Linked DNA regions of Homo sapiens: regions 1 and 3 are each linked to region 2. Evidence: promoter capture Hi-C in human tissues and cell types (Jung and others, 2019). All regions are on one chromosome and are shown on one strand. The core of a region is centred on a gene start or on the middle of the fragment in contact, and the rest is flanking DNA. Distances in the headings are between cores, read along the strand shown.

The links. Contacts are between HindIII fragments. The study calls those that stand out against the background at their distance.
Region 1: a contact is called between a fragment that was not itself captured here and the fragment with the promoter of HUNK in region 2, in 5 of the 25 tissues and cell types used here (dorsolateral prefrontal cortex, heart left ventricle, hippocampus and 2 more).
Region 3: a fragment that was not itself captured here is called in contact with the fragment with the promoter of HUNK in region 2 in 6 of the 25 tissues and cell types used here (H1 embryonic stem cells, dorsolateral prefrontal cortex, liver and 3 more).

What each region holds. Positions count from the first base shown.
Region 1 is chr21:31,768,364-31,772,396 of GRCh38, forward strand. No RefSeq gene overlaps it. Among named protein-coding and RNA genes, the nearest start is that of SCAF4, 38 kb to the left of the region's middle. The HindIII fragment of the contact is 4,194 bases long and covers 1-3,542 here.
Region 2 is chr21:31,870,956-31,875,136 of GRCh38, forward strand. It overlaps HUNK (hormonally up-regulated Neu-associated kinase), which reads left to right and starts at 2,065. Exons shown (of 11, transcript NM_014586.2): 1 at 2,065-2,980. The coding sequence starts at 2,720. RefSeq lists silencers at 2,183-2,232, 3,159-3,338. The HindIII fragment of the contact is 17,092 bases long and covers 1-4,181 here.
Region 3 is chr21:31,965,797-31,969,757 of GRCh38, forward strand. It overlaps HUNK (hormonally up-regulated Neu-associated kinase), which reads left to right. Exons shown (of 11, transcript NM_014586.2): 6 at 2,454-2,589. Among named protein-coding and RNA genes, the nearest start is that of HUNK, 95 kb to the left of the region's middle. The HindIII fragment of the contact is 5,459 bases long and covers 1-3,961 here.

The DNA of each region.
Region 1 (4,033 bases), core at 196-2,695, 100 kb before region 2:
TTTTTTATGGCTGCATAGTATTCCATGTGTATATGTACCACATTTTCTTTTTCCAGTGTATCATTGATGGGCATTTAGGTTGATACCGTGCCTTTGCTATTGTGAATAGTGCTGCAATGAACATACACATGCATGTGTCTTTATAATAGAACAATTTATATTCCTTTGGGCATATACCCAGTAATGGGATTGCTGGGTCAATTGGTATTTCTGCTTTTAGGTCTTTGAGAAATCGCCACACTGTTTTCCACAATGGTTGAACTAATTTACACTCCCACCAACAGTGTATAAGTGTTTCCTTTTCTCTGCAACCTTGCCAGCATCTGAAAAACCAGTCACCACATGCTATCACCTCTTTATTTTCTATTTTTATTAATTTCTACTCTTATCTTTCTTAATTCATTCCTTCAACTTTCTTCAGGTTTATTTTGTCTCTCTCCATCCCCTGCCAAGCTTCTTGAGTTGAAATCTTGGTTGATTCATTTATTTTCAACATTTCTTATTTTCTGTCACATGCACATAAGGCTATGTATTTTCCCTGTGAGTGCTGTCTTAGCGTGTCCCAAGGGCCTTGATATCCATGGACAGCTCTTACTGTGATTCAGTTCTAAATGGCTTGTAATTTCTGTGCTTATTTCCTGTCAAACCTAAGACTTATTTAGTGGAATGTTTTAAAATATCCAAGAGGATAGATTTTTGTTTGTTATCCATCTTTTATTATTTTCTAATTTTATTCCATTATAGTTCATGAATGTATGCTGTCACAGTTTTACTATTGGGGATTTGTTGTGATTTTCTTTGTGGTTTAATACATTCAGAGAATGTCTCATGAGAGTTGGAAAAAAATGTGTAATGTCTGTTGGATAAAAACTTGTTTCTCTCCATATGCCTATGAAGTTATAAATGTTAGTTTTGTCAGCCAGGACTTCTTAAGACATATTCATTTGGGTAGTAGTTGATCAGCCTGTTTTTGAGAAATGTATTTAAAGCCACCCATGATGGGGACTTACCAGTGATTCCTTGCATTTCTATCAGGGCTTGTCTTACTTACAGATTTTGAGGCCAAGGTTGTAGGTACATAAATGTTTATGATTCATATTTTTGTGGATTATAATGTTATAATTATGATATATTCTTTTAATGCTTTTCATTTTGAATTTTATTTTGTGTGAGATGACTACTATTAATATATACCTGGCATGCCTTTTTCTTTTATTTTCTTTTTTTGTCATCCAGGCTGGAGTGCAGTGTCATCCAGGCTGGAGTGCAGCCTGTCTGTCATCCAGGCTGGAGTGCAGTGGCACAATCTTGGTTAACTGCAACCTCCCTGCCTCCCAGGCCCAAGTGGTCCTTCCACCTCAGCCTCCTGAGTAGCTGCGACCACAGGCCTGCACCAGCATGCCTGACTGATTTTTGTATTTTTGTATTTATTTATTTATTTTTTGAAACAGAGCTTTGCTCTTGTTGCCCAGGCTGGAGTGCAATGGCATGATCTTGGCTCACTGCAACCTCTGCCTCCTGGGTTCAAGCGATTCTCCTACCTCAGCCTCCCAAGTAGCTGAGATTACAGGCATGCACCACCACACCCAGCTAATTTTGTATTTTTAGTAGTGACAGGGTTTCTCCACGTTGGTCAAGCTGGTCTCGAACTCCCTACCTCAGGTGATCCGCCCGCCCCGGCCTTCCAAAGTGCTGGGATTACAGGCGTGAGCTACCGTGTCTGGCCTAATTTTTGTGTTTTTTTTTTTTTTTTTTTTGAGACGGAGTCTCACACTGTCACCTGGGCTGGAGTGCAATGGTGCGATCTCAGCTCATTGCAACCTCCGTCTCCCAGGTTCAAGCGATTGTCCTGCCTCAGCCTCCCGAGTAGCTGAGATTACATAATTTTTGTATTTTTAATAGAGATGGGGTTTCGCCGTGTTGGTCAGGCTGGTCTCGAACCCTTGACCTCAGGTCATCCACCTGCCTCAGCCTCCCAAAGTTCTGGGATTATAGGTGTGAGCCACTGCGCCCGGCCTAGCATGCCTTTTTCGATGTCTTTTCCATCTTTCCTGTGTTCTTTTCATTAGGTGTTAGGATTGCTGATATGTTTGGCCTTCTTTCTGGCTGTGGCAGAAAAGTCACAATGGTCTTTCCCAAGTATATGCCATTTGGCTACCAAAAATGCATCCTCCCTTTCCTAGCATGGAAAGTGACAGCCCAGTCAAGGGCTATTTTCTCAACCCTCTTCATGCCCAGTTATGGTCATGTGATTAGTTCTCAGCAATGAAATGTGGGCAGCAGTGATGGGAATCACTAAGGACTTAATGTTTTTCTCTGCTTTTATTGAATGCGCACTTAATTGGTGATGATTTGCAGAGAAGTGGAGAAAGCAGGGAACTAAGGAGTTTCTATTTGTTTACTGATTCTAAGCCCTGAAAATGCCAGGTGATCGGGGGTGATCAGACGTGTCTGAATCACGTTGGTGGTGCCAGTGACTTGCTTGATGTTTGCCTTCCCCATCACTTCAGCTCCCTGAGGCCTGGGACTGTGCCTACCAAGTGCTACATGGTCTCCCTAAAGCTTGGGTTATAGTACACTCTTTATTAACATTTATTGTGTGAATAAATGAAATGCTTTACATTTACTGGTGACCTCATCAACTAATTCTTTTTTTTTTTTTTTTTTTGAGACGGAGTCTCGCTCTGTCACCTAGGCTGGAGTATAGTGGCGCACGTCGGCTCACTGCAAGCTCCGCCTCCCAGGTTCACGCCATTCTCCTGCCTCAGCCTCCGAAGTAGCTGGGACTACAGGCGCCCGCCACCACGCCCAGCTAATTTTTTGTATTTTTAGTAGAGACGGGGTTTCACCATGTTAGCCAGGATGGTCTCGATCTCCTGACCTCATGATCTGCCTGCCTCGGCCTCACAAAGTGCTGGGATTACAGGCGTGAACCACCGCGCCTGGCCTTCATCAACTAATTCTTTTGGTAAATGAATTTCTGCTTAAACCAGGCCAAGACCTTTCTTTATAAGAAGCCAGGCCAGTGAATCAGGGAGTGAGATCAGAGGAAAGGAAGTCTCCCTTTTGTGTCTTTAAGTCATGTATTGTGCCGTGACTAGCTGGAAAAGCTGCAAAATAGTATAATAGAAGCTGTATATATCAGCAATAGCAAGGATTACTTGTCTGAGAACCTGGTTTGTGCCAGGCACTGACCTTGATGCTTTTCATACATTGCTTCATTGAATACTCATAAAAGCTACCACACAGGTGTGATTCTCCCTATTTTACAGATGCATCAGCTGAGGCTCTGTGCGGTAAATAAGTTGTTCAATGACAGAGACCAAGTAAGTGGCCAAGTCAGGACTCATATCCGTCTTCCTGACTTCGAGCTTGAATTCCCTTCTACCATACCTTATAAAAAGAATTCAGCAGCCTGAGGTTCAAGGTTCAGCTGCATGATATTGAGAATTCATTTAGTTTCTCTGAGCCGCCATCTCCTTATTTGTGGAATGGAGATAATGATGACACTGATTGATGCTCAGCTCCTCACAGAGTTATTGTAAAGACAAGTGAGAGAATGACTATGTGTTTTGCAAGTGATTAAATTCACAAACACAAGTCACTTTACTTACAGTATACTGGAGACACTTACATTAGGCTTTTAAACATTTATATATATATGTATATATATTTTTTGATACAGGGTCTCACTTTGTCACCCAGGCTGGACTGCAGTGGTGCAATCTTGGCTCACTGCAGCCTAGACCTCCAGGACTCAAGAGGTCAGATCCTCCCAACTCAGCCTCCTGAGTAGCTGGGACTACAGGTGTGTGCCACCATGCCTGGCTAATTTTTTTTGTATTTTTTTGTAGAGATGGGGTCTCGCCATGTTACTCAGGCTAGTCTTGAACTCCTAAGCTCAAGTGATCCATCCACCACGGCCTCGCAAAGTGCTAGGATTATACGTGTGAGCCACCGCTCCTGGCCAGACTTTTTTTTTTTATTTAAAAAACTTTATTTTTAAACTTTAATTTTTGAGACAGGGTCTCAC
Region 2 (4,181 bases), core at 815-3,314:
GACTTCTCTTTGGCATCCATCCCAGCTTATGGAATTAGCAGTGAACTTGAATCAAACCCAGGCAGCAGGCTTGAAAAAGATTTAATGGGCCTGGATTTTCTCTCTTCTTCACCCCTTTCCTGACCTCTACCCTGAGAGGATAATTAAAAGGAAAGAAAATCTCTATTTCATTGTAAATGTCATCCACCATTTTTATGAAACTTTTTTTTTTTAGACCATAAAAATACTTTGGGGAACAGTCTCAGAAATTTCCCTTAAACCTTAATAAATAAATCTCTAAATTTTCATAAAGAGTGCATGTCCTAACATTAAAAAAAATCATACTCTATTAACACAACATTGGGTGGACTCCCAAACTGTTTCTGATGGAAGATTCAGAGTGGTTTTTTTTTTTTTTTTTTTGAGAAGGAGTCTTGCTCTGTCGCCCAGGCTGGAGTGCAGTGGCAAGATTTCAGCTCACTGCAACTTTCGCCTCCTGGATTCAAGCAATTCTCTGCCTCAGCCTCCCGAGTAGCTGGGATTACAGGCGCCCGCCACCACGCCCGGCTAATTTTTGTATTTCTAGTAGAGACAGGGTTTCACCATCTTGACCAGGCTGGTCTTGAACTCCTGACCTCGTGATCTACCTGCCTCGGCCTCCCAAAGTGCTAGGATTACAGGCGTGAGCCACCGCGCCCGGCCTCAGAGTGGTTTTTACCCCAAAGTGAGCTCCATATTCCTCATTCTTTAGACAGTTGCTGGACATCTATTCTGCTGGCACCACGCTAGTTACCATTCCCCTCCCATGCAACTGTCCTGTTAAGATTTGATTACTGAATTAGAGACATTAAAAGGATTGAATGAACGTTACTGAAATAGTCAAGGCCGGTGGGAGCAAAGAAGTCCCTTCAGCACAGCAAGAAAAACATTTTAAGCTGTATCTTTAATATTGGTAAACGGGAACAATGAGACAGAACAACAGAAAACGCAGTATGTTCCGTCATAATAACTGAGGCTGGTGACTTGTAACAGGTAGGTGGATGAATATAGTAGCGTATTTAAAATTAGATGTATTGAAAGCAGGCATTTCTCTGCGTCCCTCTTCAGATGGGTCAGCGAGACCCCCAGACACTGGATTGATGACAGCTGTTGTTCCCCCACCCCCCACTCCCAATCTCAAAGCATTGCTATGGGTCGATGTCATACTTGTTTACTCAGGAATAAACAATGAAAGGAACTTTGTTAGGACCAAATCCTTCCTTTCAGCTCTGATGTTGCATGATCGGGGTGAAGTTTCCATCAAATGCGGGCACCTCAACAGGTAGCATTTTGTAAATGCCTCCTCCTACCTACCCTCCTCCTTCTCCCTCACAAGATTCTTCATTTTCGGTTTGAGAAGACGTTGGGGATCCTGGGAGAGGGTCCAGTGTCGTCAGGGCAGTTGCAATTGTTTATGCGATGAGCACAGTCACAGCGCTTGCAGAACAAAAGCATCGAAGAGAGGCGAGCGCCGGTCCACCTCCTGCAATCACAGGCATCATTTCAATGGAAGGCAAAGAAGGTGTAAGCTACAAGCAGAGGCAGCAAACGCCCTGGTTCCTACATTGCTGCTGCTACTATTACTGCTGTGGCTGCGCCTCCTCCAACACAGCCAACCAGGCTGCGTGCGAGCCCGGGCAGACGCCTGGCCGCCTCCCCACCCTTTCTTCCAGCCATCCATCTATCCTTCCACCCCCGGTCCAGGGGGCCCTACTGTGTGGCGGACTCAGGGCCGGGCACGCAACCCGACTCACAGTCCACGGAGTTCGAGAGCCTTCCCCCTTCCCCCCGCCCCGGGTGGGTGCGGCCAGTGGGGGATTTCACCGCCGAAAGGTCCAGAAAACCCAAGCCCAGAATCCGGGCAAGAGGCGCAGCCGGAGGCGGCCCGACCTGGGCGGCCCGGGAGCGCGCGCCTCCGAGGCCGCGCAGGTTCTCCCTGTCTGGCGCTCAGGTGGCTTCTCCGTCCACTCCGCCGCTCCCCTCCCCGGGCCCTCCCCTCTCCAGCGAGGGTCGAGTTTGACTGTGGCGCGCGGGGAAGGAGGGGCTACTAGGGATTTGAAAGTGCACGGGCTGCGGAGTGGAGCTCGCATCTGTTCCCGCCGCCCGCGAGCGGATTAAATTTCTGCAAATTCAAACTGAATGGGGCTTTCTTCTGCTGCCTTCCAGAGGGCGCCGGCAGCCCGCCGCGCGCTTCTCTCCGGCGGGAGCGGCCGCCCAGCGCACGGCTAGGAGCGATCGCGGGAGCCCGACCCAAGCCCGTGCGGGCCAGACGGCGGCGGCGAGGCGGAGGCTGCGGAGGCACCCGGGCTCCCGGACCCAGGCACCCGGACCCCGGGACCCAGGCGCCGCCGGACCGCGCCCCACCCCGCGCGCCCGAGCAGGGCGACTGTCATTAGCTTCCTGGACGGGACCCGGGGCGGGATCCTGGTGTCCTGAAAGGGGCCCGGGCGACCCTAAGAGGAAGAACTTTTGGGGGCGGGGTCCCCGGTCCCGCGTCCCCTGGGCAGCCGCTATTGTCTACGCGCCTCGCTGGGCGGCGCGGGGGGCGTGATCGCGGCGGCCCCGGGCTCTGGGTGCGGAGACCCAGGCGGGGCTGGGCCCAGGGCGGCGGCGGGAGAAGCCGGGGAAGCCGAAGAGCCTGGGGAGGAGGAGCTGCGAGCGCGGGAGACGAGCAGGAGCCGCGCGGGCCGCGGCGAGCGCGATGCCGGCGGCGGCGGGGGACGGGCTCCTGGGGGAGCCGGCGGCGCCTGGGGGCGGCGGCGGCGCGGAGGACGCGGCCAGGCCCGCGGCGGCCTGCGAGGGAAGTTTCCTGCCTGCCTGGGTGAGCGGCGTGCCCCGCGAGCGGCTCCGCGACTTCCAGCACCACAAGCGCGTGGGCAACTACCTCATCGGCAGCAGGAAGCTGGGCGAGGGCTCCTTTGCCAAGGTGCGCGAGGGGCTGCACGTGCTGACCGGGGAGAAGGTGAGTCTCCCGGGCGCCGTGGGGCTGGGGCACAGGGGCGGGAGTCGGCGGCCAGGACCCCGCGGGGAGCACTGCACTGGGAGTCCCAGTGTGCAGTCCCGGGCCAAGCGCCTTCCCCCTCCGCCCGGCTTTCCTGTTGGGTTAAAACGCGCGCTCAGCATCTCGCAGCCTTTCCCGAAGGCGGCCTGCGGTCCGCTGCCCGGGGGTTGGGGGCTTGGGAGGGGACGGCCTTGCCCCGGGAAGCGTCCCGCGCGGCCGTTCTGCTCGTGGAAGGGCGCCGCCTGGCGACACTAGCGCGGGGGGCGGGATGGGGCCCCTCTGCCCTTCAGGCCGGCAGGGGCGGCGGATCCGTGGCGAGGCGGGAACCAGGGCTAGAGGAGGTGGGCTCTTATGTCGGGGGGCGGGGGGGGCAGGAAAGCTAACAGCCAGCCTCTGGGGGGAGCTTAGAGTCTGATCCCCGTCCTGGGCTCTCGGAGGAGGTGGGAGAAGGCTGAGATCCTGCATTCCTTCCCACCTGTGGGCTCCGGCAGCTAGGGAATGTTTTTTGGCAGCTAGGGAATTTTTCGTGCTCAGAGGAGGGTTTTTGCCTCCGCCCTCCACTTGTCCATCCCTCAACCTGTGCTCCTCTCTATCCACTCAACCCTCCCACCCCTGCCCCCTCATCACCCACCATTCTCATCCCCGCCATTCTCATCCCCTTCTCTCCGTTCCCCCAGCTCCTCTGTGCCCTCCAGCCTCAGGGTGGGAGCTGCAGTGAAGACCCTGCTACTGGCAGGAACAGAACTACAGATACCTCCCCCCAGAGACTGGGAGATGCCTTCTTATCTTTCTAGAAGAGGGGAAAGGAAAGGGGACCTCCGCGAGACCAAAAGGGGCACCTCTCCAGCCTTGTTGGAAGTTAGATGGTTGTGAACCCTTGCCAGGCGAGGGGCAGGTAAGATGGAAGGTGTAACTTAGAGCTGTGAGAAGAAACCCAAGAGCTTGGTGACTCGCTTTTGAGGCCGGGTCACCCCAGGCTGGAGCTGCCCGAGCTCAGAGCCAATCCAGGCTGGAGCTGTCCCAAGCTCCTGTCATCTCGGGCTCAAGACTGCCCCCAGGCTGGGGGTGGCTCAAACCTGGAGGGGGACCAGCTCCTTTGTGTGGTCCGTGGGTCAGGGAGGCGTCAGCCGCAAGGAGGGAAGGCGGAGTTCACTTCCCAACC
Region 3 (3,961 bases), core at 1,019-3,518, 95 kb after region 2:
TCGCCATGTTGATCAGGCTGGTCTTGAACTCCTGACCTCAGGTGATCCACTCACCTCGTCCTCCCAAAGTGCTGGGATTACAGTTGTGAGCCACTGCTCCTGGCAATATTTCCTTTTTTCAAAATTTCAGTACGTATTTGAGGAACAGGTGGTGTTTGGTTACATGGATAAGTTCCTTAGTGGCGATTTCTGAGATTTGGGTGCATCCATCGCCTGAGCAGTGTACACTGTACCCAATGTGTAGTCTATTATCCCCTGCCCCTCTCCTACCCTTCCCTCCAAGTCCCCAAAGTCTATTGTATCATTCTTATGCCTTTGCACCTTCATAGCTTAGCTCCCACTTACGAGTGAGAATACACAATGTTTGGTTTTTCCATTCCTGGGTTACTTCACTTAGAATAATGGTCTCCAACTCCATCCAGGTTGCTGTGAATGCCATTAGTTTGCTCCTTTTTATGACTGAGTAGTATTCCTTGGTGTTTATATATATGACATGTATATATATATGTCACATTTTCTTTATCCACTTGTTAATTGATGGGAATTTGGGCTGGTTCCATATTTTTGCAATTGTGAATTGTGCTGCTATAAACATGTGTGCAAGTGTCTTTTTCATGTAATGACCTATTTTCCTTTGGGTAGATACCCAGTAGAGACTACCCACTATTGAAAGGGAGATGACCTGGTAACCTCTTCAACAGTATGGGAACCCACCCTGGTGGTGGGTTGACCATGGAGGTTGACCTGGCTGCATGACCTAGCAAAGATTGTTTCTCTTGAGTTGATTCTGGCATCACAACTGGCCCCTTTTTTGATGGCCTCATTTTTACCCTGCAGAAAATGAGTTGACAAAAGGCTCAGCATTTCCTCAAGAACAATGTTCAAATGACAACTTAAAGCTTTTGAGAAAGTAGGACATTTTATGGCTTCTCCTTGCAAAGAAGATTACTTTAGAAAACTGAAAAAATAACTTTGAAGAGAAGGATAGAAAAATCGGGGGACCAAGCACATTATTATTTTCTGGGATCTATTATTTGGTATGTTGGAAATCAAGTACAAAGCTACGTAAAAGAATTCTTCATATTGCAAAAACATTACCGCAATACTTTGTAAAATAAGGGCTATAGCATAAGAAAAGATCACAGTCCCACAACTCAAGCAAGACAGACCGTCTGCATTTTGAAGTCATCCCTGCCATTCTTTGCCCACATGTGGGTATGCTGTATATTCTTCTGCTGAACAATTTTGCAGCCTTAGAAGGGCCTTCATGGGTTGGGTGTGGTGGCTTACACACTTAATCCCAACACTTTGGGAGGCTGAGGCAGGAGGATCGCTTGAGCTCAGGGGTTTGAGACCAGCCTGGGCAACATGGCAAAACCCCATCTCTACCAAAAAAATAAAAAAAGTATCCAGGTGTGACGGTGCATGCCTGTAGTCTCACCTACTTGGAAGGCTGAGGTGGGAAGGTCACCTGAGCCAGAGAGATCAAGGCTGCAGTGAGCCATGATGGCACAACTGCACTCCAGCCTGGGCGACAGTGTGAGACTCTGTCTCCAAAATATAAAAAATAATGAATAAAATAAATACAAAATAAAAGGCTTCGTGTGCATTATAAACGCATTTTTACCTCTCATACAGTTGTTTCCGTTGTTATAATCTTAAAGGATGCAAATGTTCTGCTTAGAGATGAATTAGCTTCTTATCTCCAGTGCTTGAATGGACAAGTGCTCTGTAAATATTTGTGAAATGAAAGGAAACCCAGGGCATTTAAAACATTATTTTTGGCCAGGCGTGGTGGCTCAGGCCTATAATCCCAGCACTTTGGGAGGCTGAGGCGGGGAGGTGGGCGGCGGTGCAGAATGGCTTTAAAGGAAAGGATCAGAAAGCAGGACCTCTCTGGCCCCTTGAGACTCTGAGTGTCCTGTGGTGCCCAGTTGAGAGGTCTAACTTAGGATGCCTGTACACTTCTGGCTTCTCCCTGAGTGCTCAAAAACCTACCTTGCGAGCAGGCATTTTCTGTTTATTTTCTTTCATTCCTACAAGCCTGTCAATAGTGCATCTCTTTGGCTCACCTATGAGCAACAAGAAAAGACCACAGGTTGTCTTGGGAAACACGGAATGGGGAGACCCAAACTGGTTCTTGCTGTATCATGTACCAGTTGCTCCCCTTGGACAGAGAAATTAAATTCTTTGGCTATGTGGTGTGTATTTTTTAAAGAGAGAGAGGGGGAAATGGGATTTTCCACACCCCTCCTGTCTGAAGGGAGGTGGGGCTGAAACCAAGCTCCACGATTCATTGAATCGGAACCCTGCCCAGAGACCTAGAGAAGAGATCACCCCAGCAGTGACTCGGGATGGGCAGGCAAGGTGGCGAGTCCCCTGTGATGGTGGCTTTCACTGGTGTCTGCGTTCAGCCTGTAACATGCGTGCATTCTTTCCCAAATGTCTCCCAGGTGCCATCAGTTTCCTGCGCTCTCTCCTGGAACCGGATCCTGTGAAGAGGCCAAATATTCAGCAGGCACTGGCGAATCGCTGGCTTAATGAGAATTACACGGGCAAAGTGCCCTGTAATGTCACCTATCCCAACAGGTAATTTCGTGCACCCAGAGGAACTCCTCGGGAGAGACGGGGCCTGTCCTACTAGCCCTGAGCAGTTCCGGACAGAAAGCTGTCCGTGATTGAAGGAAAAGCCGCGCTCTCTCTTGGCTATCTCCCCTTCCCCCTAACACCCACACCCACACATCCACAAGAGGAAGCGTAGACAGGGCCACCATGTGCTGTTATGCCGTGTGCCCTGCAGGGGCACCTGGAGGAGAGGTGAGTGGAGGCTGATATCCAGGCTTTGAGGGTCTGTATCTTCCCAGGGGTTGCCTTTTTCTAGTTCACACAGAGGGACCTTTGAGACTAGCTGTGGCCCGAGTGTGTGTGTGTGTGTGTGTGTGTGTGTGTGTGTGTGTGAGAGAGAGAGAGTGAGTGTCTATGTCTGCTTGGGTCTCCATGTGCATGGGTGTTGTGTCTGTGTGTGTGTATGTGTTGTGTGTAAATTTGTGTGTGTGTGTGTGTGTGTGTGTGTGTGTGTATGTCTTTGTTTTGTTTTTTTAATACATAGTCTGGCTCTGTCACCCAGGCTGGAGTGCAGTGGCGTAATCTCAGATCACTGCAACCTCTGCCTCCTGGTTTCAAGCGATTCTTATGCCTCAGCCTCCTGAGGAGCTGGGATTACAGGAACGTGCCACCACACCAGGCTAATTTTGTATTTTTAGTAGAGACGGGGTTTCACCTCTTGCCCAGGCTGGTCTTGAACTCCTGACCTCAAGTGATCCGCCTGCCTTGGCCTCCCAAAGTGCTGGGATTTCATGTGTGAGCCAACGTGCCCGGCCAGTCCTTGTGTTGTGAGTGTGTTTGCGTGTGTGTGATCAGCTCACGAGCCCACCTGCCAACATCAAACAGAAACATGGGATCGCCCCTCCCTTTCCAAACCACCCTTAGATGCCTTCTTCTGCCTTGTTCTTGATGTTTATTTCAGCCCTAAGACCCCTGCCTTAAAATGTGGGAGGCAGGAAGGAAAGGCATAGGAGTCATTCGTTTTAGGCCGGGTGTCCCTATGAACTTTCCGTGAAGGCTTCACTTTATCAGTTTCCATGAGGAGGGTTCTTTAAGCAAAGCTTGCAGACAGGAACCCACAGCATAGGAGCACTGATGGGCTCCCTGTGCAGCCCACGCTTCTCCATGCTGGTGCGCTAACTACAGATTAAAAAACATTTCTCTTTTTTCTTTTTTTTTTTTTTGAGACAAAACCTTACTCTGTCACCCAGGCTAGAGTGTAGTGGCATGGTCATGGCTCGCTACAGCCTCCACCTCCTGAGCTCAAGGGAGTCTCCCACCTCAGCCTCCTGAGTAGCTGTGACCACAGGCATGAGCCACCATGTCAGGCACATTTTCTATTTTTCTTCAGAGACAG